Regions from separate parts of the Homo sapiens genome. Here all the other regions are linked to region 1. Evidence: promoter capture Hi-C in 16 types of primary human blood cells and fetal thymus (Javierre and others, 2016). All regions are on one chromosome and are shown on one strand. Each heading gives the region's core, a stretch centred on a gene start or on the middle of the fragment in contact. The rest is flanking DNA. Distances are from core to core; before and after follow the strand shown.

Region 1 (2,700 bases), core at 64-2,563:
CACCAACCTTAATACATCTCATTAAAGAACAATACAACCCAAACATTTAAATATGGTAAAATCTTGATAAGCAAAAGCTTTTTATTTTACTTCATTTTTACTTTTATAAAAGCTCCTAATGCAATGACGTGTGTCACCTCTCTGGGCTTCAGGGTGTTCACCTTTCAAAAGGCCTCGGTGCCTGTCTGTCCTGCTTCCTGGCTTGTGGTTAGCATCAAAATGACACCATAAAAATGAAAGTTGCAGCCTTGAGGGTTCTTCTGGTTTCATTTCCGACCACAAGGTTGCCAGAGTGACTTTTTTTTTTTTTTAAATAACACAAATCAGTTATCACTTCCTGCTTAAAGCCCTCCAAAGGTTCCCTGTTGCCTAAAGAATAAACTCCAGGCACCTAAGCAAGCCCCACGCAGCCGTCTGCATTTTTCAATCCCTCCAACCTCGCCTTTTGCTATTTCCCCCACCCCACCTACGGCACGTTCCGGTCATAACCAACTAGCTCCTCGCTGAAACTGGCTCACACCGCGGAAGCCCGGGTCGGTGTCGGGGCGAGCCTTCCCTCCTTTTCCTGGAGCCCGTCTCAGGTCTGTAGCCCTCGGGAGGGATTGCAGGGCTCGTTCCCTGCTGGCGTTCATTTAGGTAACCTGTCTACCTCCAGTGGACTTCTAAGTCCCTTTCATGATTTTTCATCTTCCAAAATCAAATAATGGCCCAGCCCAACTTAGCTATAATGCCATGAAAAGAATCTCTGAGCCTCAGTTTCCTTGTCTGCAAAAAGGGCCCAGGAACCGCTCGTTAGGGTCGGTGTGGTGCCTGGAGAGTGCACTGCAAGGCCCGGGGCCCGCAGCGGGTGCCCGACAGCGGGCGTCCAACTCTGGGGGCGGGGCCGCAGGGCCGCTCAGGAGGGAGGTTCTCCAGAGGGGACCCCTTCGGGATTTGGGGGCAGGGAAGGAGATGGGGAGGACTTTCCCGAAGTCCGTCTAATCCCGCTGGCGGAGAGCGAGGCAGGTGGGACCCCAGGATGTCCGCTCGGCGGGGCGACCCCGGCCACCCCCGAGACCAGGGCTTTCCTCGTCCGGCCGCCACGCCCGCGCGCAGCCTCGGGCCACCCCGAAACCCCGGCGCGGTCACTACAGGACAAATTACGCGAGCAGAGCCTAGCGGCGCGCTGGGCATGCGCGGGGGCGGCGCGCATGCCCAGTCCCCCCGAGAGGCGGGAACTCCGGACTGAGACCGGGTCGGGCGTGCGCTGCCGAGAGAGGACGCGCGCCTCAGCCGGCTGCCGCGCACGCGCGCGGGCCCGCGCCGACGCAGCACGGCCTCGAGGGCGCGAGCCCGCGCCGCCGCCGCCGCCGCCGGTCCCGGACCACTGTGAGCCCGCGGCGTGAGGCGTGGGAGGAAGCGCGGCTGCTGTCGCCCAGCGCCGCCCCGTCGTCGTCTGCCTTCGCTTCACGGCGCCGAGCCGCGGTCCGAGTGAGTGCGGGGCGCCGGGCGCGGGGCGCGGGTCGGGGGCTGGGCGGGCTCCTTCTGTGCAGCGGTCGTGGGCTGGGCCGCGGCCCTGAGGGCGGAGGGGCAGAGCGGGGCCGCCCAACCAGTCCCGGGGCGGATGCGGCGGAGACCGGCCCCTCCCGCGCCCCCGGCCCGGGTTCTGGGAGGAGGGGAGGCCGGTGGCCGTGAGGAGGTTGGGGGCCCTCGCGGAGGCCGAGAGGCTTAAGGAGGTCAGGGGGCGCGCTGGGAGGCGGGGGTTCGGGGCGCTGGGTGGTCGGGAGGCTTGGGGAAGACTGGGAGGCTGAGGGACGTGGGGAGGCCGGGAGCTCGAGGAGGTCGGGGGTTTTGGGGGCGCGCGGGGAGGCCAAGGGGTTCGGGGAAGACAGAAAGGCTGGGGGACGTGGGGAGTCCGGGAGACGTGAGGAGGAAGGGGGGGGCGGCTTTCGAAAAGGCCGGGCGCGCGGAGAGGCCGAGGGGCCTGAGGAAGACGAGGAGGCCGGGGCTCTGGGGGCGCGCAGGGCGGACAGAGGCGCGGGGAGGACGGGCCGGCCTCCGCCGGAGCGGACCCAATGCCTGAAAAACAAAAGGGGAGAGGCAGGAGGAGGAAGAGGGAAATCGCAGGGACGTCGGCAGGGTTCGCCCGGACGCGAGAGGGAGGCTCGCGACGGCCCGACCTCCGTCCCCCGGGCGCGGCCTCGCGGGCAGCCAAGGGTGGGCTCCGAGCGGCCTGCCGGTGCCCGAGCCCCAAGCCCGCCGTGTCCCCGAACGCAAACCCTCAAGTTTGGTAGAGCCCCGTGGGCTTCTTGGCGGGAGCCCTGGAGCCCTCACTGAAGTCCTCACTGGAGTCATTGTGCTTCCCAAGTTTTCTCCTCTTCCCCGCCCCCAGCCCCCGACTCTGCCGCGGTGGCTTAGGCGCAACTGTTTGCCGAATTTCTCTCTGGGTTCCTTGTGTAGCGGCATCCTGTTCTTTCTTAGAAGAAGGGGTGTGTGTGTGTGTGTGTGTGTGTGTGTGTGTGTGTGTGAATTGGTTTCATTTAATTGCAGAATTTTGTAGCTAAATTCAGTGAGGGTAAAGTTTCTTTTTTTTTTTTTTTCCGAGTCATTTCAACAGTGTCTCATTCTTGCATAGTTAGCCTGCAGCTGGGTTTTTGGCAATGAGACTAAGATAATAGTAATATTGTAGTAATTATGGGAACTGGTTATACATTCAAGCTG
Region 2 (2,700 bases), core at 194-2,693, 260 kb before region 1:
GCACAGCCGTACGCTCGCTGGTGAGCCTGCCTCCATCCCTCAGCGTCTCCACTCCAGTGCAGGAGCCTGGACTATTGCACTGTGTAGCCACGCAGGCCCCACGGGACACGGCAGCAGGTGGTCTGCCGGCTTCCCAGAGCTGCTGCCCCGGTATCATTCCTGAAGGACAGCAGTGAAGCTGCTGAGGCCAAGGGAAGGCCAGAGTCCAAGGAAGGCAGTGGAAGTGTCACGGAAGTCTCCTGGCTTGTGGTGAATGCAGCACTTGCTATATGCGCACACAGATTTGGCCGTTCACAGGCAGGTCACCTGCCCCGTCCTGCCAGCCCCCGCAGTTCAGGGACCTGCCCACCGCTGTCCTGGGGCTCCCTTGCTGTGTCGTGTTGCTTGACTATGTGCCTACTCTGAGTCCAGTATAGCTCAAGACAGCTTGCCAGACCAGGGTACCACAAATTGTTAGAAAATTAATACTTCATTTCCTCATTTCCAGTATCTTAATGGTAGAGTGATGGCGGACATTTGTGGGAATAAGGCACTTCAACATCTGGGCCCTCTTGTTAGATCTGTTTTGGAAATTTCCGCCCTTCCAGCACACACTGCTTGCCCCACACTTCCTGCCCAGCCAGGCATGCACTGAATACATGTGGGGAGGAACTTGTAGAAGAGCTCATTTTCTTTTCGTTGAGTTTTAAGGACTCTTTGTATATTATGGATGCCAGTCTTTTATCAGATATGTCTTTTGCGAATACTTTTACCCCGTTTGTGGCTTGTCGTCTTCTTCCCTTGACACACACTGGTTTCATGCTGGAAGTCAGTGGGATTTCCCACATGCTTTTCAGGAAATAGCCTTAGACGCAGAATTGCCAATGCTGCTGTTAGTGTTCCTCTCCGTGGCCATCTGGAGAGGCAGGAAGACACGTGCCGGCCGTGACTGGGGGAACTGCATTGGTAAAGATTGAACGGGGCCGTCCGAGGCTGATGGTGGTGGTGGGTTTGTCTGACTGTGGGTGCCCCTACTCATGCCTGTTTCTGGGTGGTGGGTGCAGAAAACACACAGCCGTTCTCATGAGCCGGCCCTCATCAGCATGTGCCGCCCACAAGCGGTGTCTGCAGCCCATGGTGTCAGGCCCATGCGTGCGTGTACATGCGCTTCGTGTGTAGGGGCTGTGAAAGGGGCAGCACACGTTTGTGGTCACCGTGCGGACGCGTGTTGTCCGGACTCGCTAGACCGCTTCCCAGGAAGCATGGCTCACGGAATTCTCCTGTCGCTGTTGAACGCTGGGACTGTGCTGTAGATCTGAAAGTTTCACCCAAGCTTGAGGTGTGTGTCAGCAGCAACTCTCCAGTTACCTTTTTGGTGAAATTTAAGTTTACAGCCAGCTTTTCCACTCAGCAAATTGTAGGAAGTCATGTGTTTTGGCATCAGTTACCCTTAAATTAGAAACAGGACAATAGAGGAAGTTGTTGATTGGAACAATTGTAGTTTCGCTTGTCTGAGTGCATCTGCGAATCATAACAAAATTGTTGTCACCGAATGCCCCGACAGTCGCTGGAACAGATTCCAAAGGGAAGCTTGCTTTTCCATGCTGGGGAAAATCTGCCCGAAAAGTTTCACTGTTCTTTTGAATATGAGATACTAGAACAGGTCACAGCTTAACTTTTGAGCTTCTCCGCATTTTAAGCAGCTGAGGCGACAGCAGCTCTCAGGGGTACAGGATTGCCTGTGCTGGGGAAGGAGGAGCGTGACCTCCCTTAAATGGGTTCAGTGTGACGTCATGCCTCAGTAGGGAGTTTTCAGCTGTGTACTAGAGAAGAATCATTTTCCTTTTTTCAGATAATGCTCTCGTGCTTATATAAAATAGTTTCCTTACAGAAAACAATTTGCTTGCTCTAAGAAAGTGACCTCACGGCTGTAGTTTGCTGGGCGTTGGACTGGTTTTATGGTATCTGATTGCCCCCGCGCAGTGTGAGAACACGCCCCGCGCTGGCACCCAGCCCCTCCCTGCACACTCCTCCCTTCTCTTCTCAGAGCTGCTTTCCTTTCATTTCTTGTGAGGCCCTAGAGATGAAGTGACTGGGGGAGGCCGTGAAGGGAAGGATTTCAAACTGCCTCAGAGTCTTCGTGTTCAGGAAATATGCACCACATGGGCCCTTGTTCCAGTCCCAGCAAGGGCTGTGGGTGAGGAGGACCAGAGGGCCTCGAGGTGTCCACTGTTGTCTCTCGGGAAATGGACCATCACATCCAAACATGTGTCCATAAACTTTGGAAATACAATCCATCTTTAAGTTGGCAGCTATGCATATTTTGGTGATGGTTTGGTAGACTTGTTAATTTGGTTATATTCTTTTTTTTGTCCATTCTCGCTCAGACAACAAAAGAATTAGATTATAAACTGAAAATATAAGAATGAATAGCCTTAATTAGATGGGAAGGAACACAGGGGCCTTTCCAGCATGATAGACGGGTTCTGTCTTGATAGGAATTTGTTGAAACTGTCTGGGTAGTACCTTCTCACTGCATGTAAATTATAGCTGACTTCATAAACAACACTTAACAGCTGTCATGATCTAGCCAGTTAGAAAACATAAGGGCAGAGGAAATCCTATTTGCAGTGACCATGACAAAGGTTAATTAGGAGAAAACAATGTGGAAGACCATGGAAGGACTGCTTTTAAGTTCTCCCCGAAGGCGTCAGGGTGGAC
Region 3 (2,700 bases), core at 32-2,531, 380 kb before region 1:
TTGCCAAACCAGGAAAATGACACTGTTTCTGGCATTGAAGTTCCCAACCCTCAATCCAAGAACAATTTGGAGAATTTGTGATGAGGCTGTTTCTCCTGTTTTTTCCAGATTCAGTGAAGGTCCCTGAGCTGAGGACGAGAGAGGAGAGATGATGAGGAAGGCAAAGAGGAGACAGGGGGAGGAGAGCGAGGAACAGAAGGAAGAAGGGGAGGAGGGAGAAGGGAAAAAGAGGGAGGGAGGGGGAAGGGAAAGAGAGAGAGGGAGGGAGAAAGGAGGGAGGAGGTGAAGGGGAAGATGAGAAGGGGAGGAGGCAGAAGATGTTCTGGGAAGGGACAAGAGACGGGCCTGGTGCCTGGGCCCCACGCCTCCCGTTCCTCAGCAGATGAGGCCTGTTGGGAGGCTGAGGAAGGGAGATTGGTGTCCCCACAGGGAGCAGAGCAGGGCTGAATCTAGGGATGCAACAATGCAGAGGGTCCAAATGTCCCCACCAGGCCCAGAAGAGGGCGGGGGCAGCTGGCCCCACCCAGGGACCCAGGCTCAGGCAGGCTGTGCACTGCCCAGCAGCAGGGAACGTGGGGCCAGGGCCTCCATGCCTGATGTGTGCTGAGCCTGCATGCTGAGCCCTCCATGGGGAGCCTGGTGGGGGACAGAGGGCAGCCACAGAACAAGTGACCCTCCCTGGAGGTCGTGGGGCCCAAACACTGGATGCTGCCCAAGACACGGCAGGTCCAGGCTGAGGAACCTGAGGTCCCGACCCTCTCACGTGGGACAGGGCCTGCAGGAGGCAGCCTCCAGGCCCCCCGAACCTGACAACCCCTCATCCTCCTGGCGTGTGGGTCTGTCTTCTCCACTGGCCTGGGATCCATCCACAGTTGCCATCTCCCTCGTCCCCACCAGTGGGCACTCAGGGACAGGAGTTGAGTGAGGCTCCATGTGAGATGCAGGGAACACAGGCACTGGTGGGGGCAGCACAGCTTGCTGGAGTCCCAGCTTCCTGGCCGCTCTGGAGTCAAGGAAGGCTGTGGGTCTCATACCACGTCCTCAGGGCTGCTGACCACCCTCCACGGGGGCCTTTATCCCAGGAAAAATCCCTCATTCCCGGGAAGCTACCATTGCCAAAAATATGGCCTGACAGGCACCCGTCTGACAGGTGCTCCTCAAGCACCCATCCGCGGACACATGCTGAACCCATACGATGCTCTAAACGGGGCGTGCACACTGCAGCCCTCTCAGCACAGGGGCCATGCACCACCAGTTACCAGGATAATCCCTGTGGATGTCGGATTACAGCCTGCTGGGCTGGAGAAGTGGCTGCCCTCAGCAGGGCGCGTGCCTCCCCAGTCATCCCAGTCCCCCTCTGCAATGACAGAGCCCCAGGGAGCTGCAGAGAAGGGGATTTCTTCTTGCAAACAAAACCCCACAGGGAGCCCCAAGATCTAGCTCTAGTTTATTCCTCTATCCAGCAAGCATCAGTCAGACACCTTCTGCCTGCCAGGCCTGTGCCAGGACAAGGCGACACCAGACCCTGTCCTCCGGCCACATCAGGGAGGGGTTGGCGAACAAGGGAAGGAACAACAGGAAGGTGCCAGTGGAGAGGCCAGGCGCGTGCCATGGCGGTGGCAGTCCTCCTTCCTGCAGATCACCCAAAGCCAAACAGCAAGGAAATGCAGGCGCGGGGAAGCAAAGCCAGGAGCCCCTGATGCCCATGCTGTTAGCCACCCATCCACCTGGGTGCAGAAGATGCTCTCGGGGTTCACACTGAGAGACAGGCTGGAGCTGGGCGATGGCCCAAGTGAGTTCGGAACAGGCTGTGGGGCAGGGGCACTCCCACATCTCCAGCAGGGCTTAGAGAACAGGCAAAAGTGGATTCCGATCTCGGCAAGGCAGCGAGTATCCCCTCCTTGGAGGATAACCGAGCCTCTCTGGGGAACTCCTGGGGTGGTAGACGGGAGAGGAGATTTCTCACCGGAGGGGAGACCAGCCTGCTGTCCTGGGCTCGGGAGCAGCTGAAACTCCTTTTGGGGAATGCTCTTGGGAGCTGATTTATAAGGCACAGGAAGAGCCCCGTGTGGTGCAGCCCCACCCCGCTTGTGTCCAAACACAGCCTGTTGCTGTGGACACCCTCACCTCGCTCCTGGCCCAGGGAGGGGCGACTTGCCAGGGCACACAGAGCCCCCTACCAGGAGCCAGCCTGATCCCTGACCTCTGACCCTGGGAGCATGTGGGAGGTGCTGGCTGAGGAAGCAAAACTGCCAGTGTGGCGTCCATCACACTTTCCACATGTTTTAGCAGCAGGGTGTTTGTTTGTTTGTTTGTTTGTTTGTTTAAGAGACAGGGTCTGGCTCTGTTGCCCAGGCTGGAGTGCAGCGGTGCGAGCATGGCTCACTGCAGCCTTAAACTCCCGGGCTCAAGCGCTCCTCCTGCCTCAGCCTCCAGAGTAGCTAGGACTGTGGCATGTGCCTCCACAGCTGGCTTAGCAGCAGATTTTTTCTTGCAAACAAAACCTCACAGGGAGGAACTCCAGGTTAGAGAACTAGCTTATTCCTATACTAGCAAGCATCAGCCAAACACCTTCTACGTGTCAGGCCTGCACAGGACAAGGTGATACCAGGCCCCGTCCTCCGGCCACATCAGGGAGGGGTCAGTGAACAAGTCAAGGAGCGACGGGAAGATGCTGTGAGCATGGCCAGGCGCGTGCAG
Region 4 (2,700 bases), core at 85-2,584, 340 kb after region 1:
GGCTGTGTATCTCATGCCCTCTTCCCCTTTAAGATTTCCATTTATATTTCTCATAACAAGGCCATTGTCCTACATAACCACCACACAATCACCACATTCTGGAACTTTAACATGATGTAATGCACTGTCCCACTCTGCAGGGCACGTTCCAGGGTCGTCGGTTGTCTCTGTAGCACTTTTCCGTCGCCTGTGAGAGCCAGACCAGGATTACACTTTGCACGTGGTGTTGCTTTCTTCAGCCTCCTTTCATCTGAAACAGCTCCTCAGCCTTTTTTTATCTTTCATGACATTGACATTTTTGACAAACATAGGCTCAGTGATTTTATAGAGTATTCTTAAAGTTGGATTGAGGGATATCCTATAAACATTTGTTTCTTCCTGATGAGATTGAGATTTTGCATCTCCAGTCAGGAATACAACATAAATAATGCTGAATCCTTCTCAGCATCATACCCAGAGACATACGATGTCCAGGGGATGTTCCAGTTGACCAACTGGACATTGACTTCTGAAGGACGGTTGGACACAACTCCTGTTGGTGATTCCTTTGTAAGTGGCATTGATTCATATGCATAAACCCTTTAACTTGTTTTTGAGAAGGCCTGTGACTGGTGCTGTAGTGTAACTTCACATCCCAACCAAATGGGGTTCTCTCACTTACCTGCTTCACCGGGCCTCTGGCTTTCCATGACAAGCCTCAGTTTTGCCCCAAAGTGGAGAAGTTCCATATGCTAGAGGCAAGAAAATGGTGTCCTACCAAGTGGATATTTTAGTGGGACTATTTGTCAACACCTACTCTAGTTGATAAAGTCTAAAGTAATCTTTTCATCTCCCCTGATTCCAATACACAAATTGCTCTCCTGTATACAGTATTTTTTAATTATTAATTTTTTTTTTTTTGAGACAGGGTCTGTCTCTGTCACCCAGGCTGGAATGCAGTGACTCCATCACAGCTCACTATAACCTCCAACTCCTGAGCTCAAGTGATCTTCCTGCCTCCGCCTCCCAAGTAGCTGGGATTACAGTTGTATACCACCACGCCCAGCTAATTCTTTATTTTTTTGTAGAGACAGTGTCTTACTGTGTTGCCCAAGCTGGTCTCAAATTCCTGCTTCAAGCCATCCTCCTACCTCGGTCTCCCAAAGTGCTGGGGTTACAGGCGTGAGCCACCACACCTGGCCTTAAATCATTTTTGAAAAGAAGAGGAGCCTGTCTTTGATCCTGCATCTGCCTTTCACTGTCCTCATGCCTCCTCCTGTCCCCATTGTACTTCCTGAAAGAGCAGCCCATCCCTGATGGGGCCACCTCCTCACATGGCAGCTGCACTCAGCGCCAGCTCAGAGCATTCCAGTGCTCCAGCTGTTTGGAACTCTCTCTGCTGTAACAGCCCTTCAAGGTCTCCTAATTGCCAGAGCCCCTGCTTTCCCCTCAGTCCTAACTCCCCCTTGAGACCCCCTGCTCTGGCCCAGAGCTTCCTCACTCACTCCTCTCCTGCCAAGACCTCTGCTCAGGCTTTTGTTCCCTGCCACCCTTGAGTGTGGTCATCTCCCAAAGTGCTACCCACTTGTTTTATTAAAAAATACTTTTTCACTCTGGTAGTTCTTCTCATTCTCATAGATTCAAGTATTTGATGCCTCCCAAATCTGTGTTGATTTTATAGAACCCCGCCCTGAGCTCTGATCTCCAACTGTCTGCCATTGGCAAGAACGGTCTGCTTTCCTTGTTTGCTTCCACAGTCAGTGACAACACCATGCACTTGCATGTCTGTTCCCAATCCCCTACACACATGCAAACAACCACACACCTTCCATCTCTCATCAGGTCTCAGGTTGGTCCGTTCACCTGCACATCCACCATCACCTCTCCTCTGAAGATGGCCTCTTAGATGGTTTATCTGCCTCTTGTCTGTTCCCCTGCCCTTCCATTCAGCCTCCACATTGCCGCCAAGAGCCATCTTTCTAGAATATCTCTCTAGATTTTGTCATTCTCCTTCTTAAAAATCTCTTATCCCTCTTGCCAAGTCCTGCCAAATAAAGATCAACTAGGTGTGGCTTTCACAGTTGAAGCCAGCCTACTTTTACAGTATAGGCCAAATTCAGACAAATTCTCTCTGTGAAGTCTTTCTGACCCTCTCTGAGACAGAATGCATTGCTGTCTTATCTATGTACTTTTCTACTACGTGATTTATTCCAGTGTATTATAGGGTCCTGTGTATGCTTTTCCCATTGTAGACTGCGGGTAAAAACAGGTCTTCCTCCTTGTATCCAAGCACCAAGTGTCTCGTACATAATAGGTGCTCCATAATTGATAAAAGAGCAAATGGATAAGTCACCACTGGTTGAAGAAACAGATAAGAAGGATCATGAGACTCTCCCATGCAAAGCATTCGAACCCTGTAGGACAGCATTTTGTGTTCATTAGCTGCTTCCACCATTGCTGCCCTGACTTAATGTGTGCGGGGGGAGGGGCGTACATAATGGTCTGGCTCTGTCACCCAGGCTGGAGTGCAATGGCACGATCTTGGCTCACTACAACCTCTGTCTTCCAGGCTCAAGCCGTCCTCCCACGTCAGCCTCCTGAGTAGCTTGGAATACAGGTGCACACCACCATACTCAGCTAACTTTTTGTATTTTTTTGTAGAGATGGGGTTTCACCATGTTGCCCAGGCTGGCCTCAAACTTTTGAGCTCAAGCCGTCAGC
Region 5 (2,700 bases), core at 76-2,575, 410 kb before region 1:
TGGCTGATGAACAACAACAACAACAAAAAACCTCATGATGTTTTAAGAAAGTTTACAAATTTGGCCAGGCACGGTGGCTCACGCCTGTCATCTTACCACTTTGGGAGGCTGAGGCAGGTGGATCACTTGAGGTCAGGAGTTTGAAACCAGCCTGGCCAACATGGCAAAACCCCATCTCTACTAAAAATACAAAAATTAGCTGGGTGTGGTGGCGGGCACCTGTAATCCCATCTACTTGGGAGGCTGAAGCAGGAGAATCACTTAAACCCAGGAGGTGGAGGTTGCAGTGAGCCAAGATCCCACCACTGCACTCCAGCCTGGGCAACAGAGTGAGACTCCATCTCAAAAAAAAAAAAAAAATAGAAAGTTTATGAATGTGTGTTGGGCCACATTCAAAGCCGTCCTGGGCCGCGCTGCTGGCTGGGCAAGCTTGTTCTACTCTGTGGGCCTGCCACATTTCGTTTATCCTCAGCTGATGGACATTTGGGTCATTTCCAGCTCTGTCTGAATTTTACCCTCAGGGACTGAGCCAGGGGGCTGTGCAAGGTTGGGAAGAGGGCTACACCTTAACCATCACCCACAACTTCTGTTCTCCCAAGACCCCATTGGGTACGGGAGGTTGAGGTCCTACCAGATGCACCCTTACAGAAGCCCCAGCTTTGTGCCCACGTGTGTGAAGGAATGGAGAGGGCAGGAGAGGGACTGGAGGTGGGGAGGCCTGAGAGTCCAGGCCAGCATGTGGACTGTGGGGACACAGGGCAGGCAGGCAGAATCCACACCTTCTAGGTTCTGTCCGGGCTGTGCCAGGCTGCCAAGGGAGGATGCTGGGCAGGTCAGGGAGGAAGAGAGGTCCCAGTGGCCAGGGGAGTTGGGGAGGGACTCTCCAGGATCCCCAGCAGAGAGGGCAAAGGGTACCTCCCAAGGGCCTGACCTCCTCCCCTGGAGAGAATCCAGAAGGTGAAGGTGGCATCAGAGATGGGCCCTAGAGGACAGGAAAGATTTCTGAGCGCATTTTTGGAAGTTCAAAGCATAACCTGCATGACCTTGCACATACAGTGGGCACAGGGCAAAGACTTATTTAATTCGCTCAGTGGGAACAGCAGGAGGCAAAGCCGGCTCAGAGGAGGATTCAGGGCGAAGTGCCTACAGCCCTTGAGAGCTGGCAAGATGGATTAAGATGGAAAGAAGAGGCGGGCTGTCGGTGGCATGCAGGCAACACAGCCGTCACCACTCGCCATCTTCTGTGCCACACAGAATCCACTTGCACCTCTACCAAAACTGTAGTTCACGCAGGATGTCAATGAGTCTGGGCCCCGTTTGATCACAAACACTGGGGTCACATATCCCCAGAGTTGGCCTAATTGGTCCAACAGAGCAGAGTGGAAGAAGTGGGCATCCAGATGGGGGCGCGGCTTGAGCAAGGGCCAGAGGCAGGAGGGCAGGACTTCCCAGGGGGACACCCCAGGGAACTGCTCTCCGGAAAGGGCGGGCTCTGGGTGGCAGCAGAAAGAGGACGGCAGGACTTCCCAGGGGAAACCCCAGGGAACTGCTCCCCGGCTTCTCAGAAGTGCTTCAGGGCACGGACAGGCCTCCACAATCCCCAGTCCAGGCACATCACAGAATCAAGTGCAAGGTGAGGAAATGGAAAGTCCCCGGAATCCCCAGATGGGGCAGGAAGCAGCCGTGGGTGGCCGACAAGTGAAATGGTGACACCTGAGCCCAGATGCCTAAAGCCACCGCCCAGAGGGGCTACCGAGGGTCACCAAGAATCTGGGATACCCATCTGGCATCCTGGGTATCCCCACCACTGCCCCCACCAGTGTCCTCGACCTAAGTCAGATCATAGCCCCCTCCGCTCAAAGCCTCCAGTGGTGCCCGCGTCACTCAGGAAAGCCAAAAATCCTTATCGCCCTAAAGGCCCCACGCGAGCTGCTCCCTGCCCTCTGACCTCCTACCACTCCCCTCTCCTCATCTGCTGTAGCCTCACCTGCCTCCCAGCTGTTCCTGCAACTTGCCAAGCACAGTCCTGCCTCCGAGCCCTTGCACTGCCTGTGCTGGAGGCCAGGAGCATGCTCTGTCCCCACATCGTCCGGTGCTGGCCCCTTCTTACCACTCGGATCTCAGGTTCAGCATCCTCCTGTTCCTCCTGCTAGCCACCGAGACCTGTCCTCTGTCCCCCACACACAGTAGGGATCATCTGTCCCCCTTCTGGCAAAGCTTGTCAGCCTCTCTCCCCACGCAGGACAAGAGACCGGCCACAGCTCCACCCTCGGCTCCCTGGTTCTCAATGGGCACCGTACACAGCAGGTGCTGGCTCAGTGGATGTGTGAACATATTCGACTGTCCTGTGAGTGGGAGTAAGGCAGAGACAAGCATCCTCAGTGATGGATGAGGATGCTGAGGATGAAGAAAGGAAGACCCGCCCGCAGCCATTCCTTCTCACCCAAGCACTCCCAGCAACACAGTGACCAGGGCATCTGTGGGTGGACCCAAAGTCACTGCTTGGGTGGTCTTGGGGAAAACTGGCTCCGACCTCAGGGACCCGGAGGTTGGGGGGCCTGGAGGAAGGAGCGTCTGCTGGGTGTCTAGCCAAAATTGCCTGGGGAGCCCCCAAGGAAGACTGGACATGCCAAGCACCCAGAAAGAACTGGGGGCCACTTCTGCATGGGGCCCACAGGATCAGGAGCCAGGCATGCAAGG

The links. Contacts are between HindIII fragments. The CHiCAGO score rates a contact against its expected background, and 5 or more counts as called.
Region 2: a contact is called between a fragment that was not itself captured here and the fragment with the promoter of PTK2 in region 1, in 6 of 17 cell types (total B cells, naive B cells, naive CD4 T cells and 3 more). The highest score is 15.2, in total B cells.
Region 3: a contact is called between a fragment that was not itself captured here and the fragment with the promoter of PTK2 in region 1, in 2 of 17 cell types (monocytes and naive CD4 T cells). The highest score is 6.8, in monocytes.
Region 4: a fragment that was not itself captured here is called in contact with the fragment with the promoter of PTK2 in region 1 in 1 of 17 cell types (erythroblasts); the score reaches 5.7 in erythroblasts.
Region 5: a contact is called between a fragment that was not itself captured here and the fragment with the promoter of PTK2 in region 1, in 3 of 17 cell types (activated CD4 T cells, non-activated CD4 T cells and naive CD4 T cells). The highest score is 8.2, in activated CD4 T cells.

Annotation. Positions count from the first base shown.
Region 1 is chr8:140,999,895-141,002,594 of GRCh38, reverse strand. It overlaps PTK2 (protein tyrosine kinase 2), which reads left to right and starts at 1,313. Exons shown (of 36, transcript NM_001352702.2): 1 at 1,313-1,470. RefSeq lists silencers at 879-1,298, 1,319-1,648. The HindIII fragment of the contact is 6,005 bases long and covers 80-2,700 here.
Region 2 is chr8:141,264,693-141,267,392 of GRCh38, reverse strand. The region is part of intron 1 of SLC45A4 (solute carrier family 45 member 4); the gene reads left to right. Among named protein-coding and RNA genes, the nearest start is that of SLC45A4-AS1, 11 kb to the right of the region's middle. The HindIII fragment of the contact is 257 bases long and covers 1,315-1,571 here.
Region 3 is chr8:141,382,985-141,385,684 of GRCh38, reverse strand. No RefSeq gene overlaps it. Among named protein-coding and RNA genes, the nearest start is that of PTP4A3, 7.7 kb to the left of the region's middle. RefSeq lists an enhancer at 945-1,562. The HindIII fragment of the contact is 5,174 bases long and covers 1-2,700 here.
Region 4 is chr8:140,660,497-140,663,196 of GRCh38, reverse strand. The region is part of intron 35 of PTK2 (protein tyrosine kinase 2); the gene reads left to right. Among named protein-coding and RNA genes, the nearest start is that of AGO2, 26 kb to the right of the region's middle. The HindIII fragment of the contact is 4,196 bases long and covers 1-2,700 here.
Region 5 is chr8:141,405,229-141,407,928 of GRCh38, reverse strand. The region is part of intron 1 of PTP4A3 (protein tyrosine phosphatase 4A3); the gene reads right to left. Among named protein-coding and RNA genes, the nearest start is that of ASTILCS, 14 kb to the right of the region's middle. RefSeq lists an enhancer at 122-622. The HindIII fragment of the contact is 1,788 bases long and covers 432-2,219 here.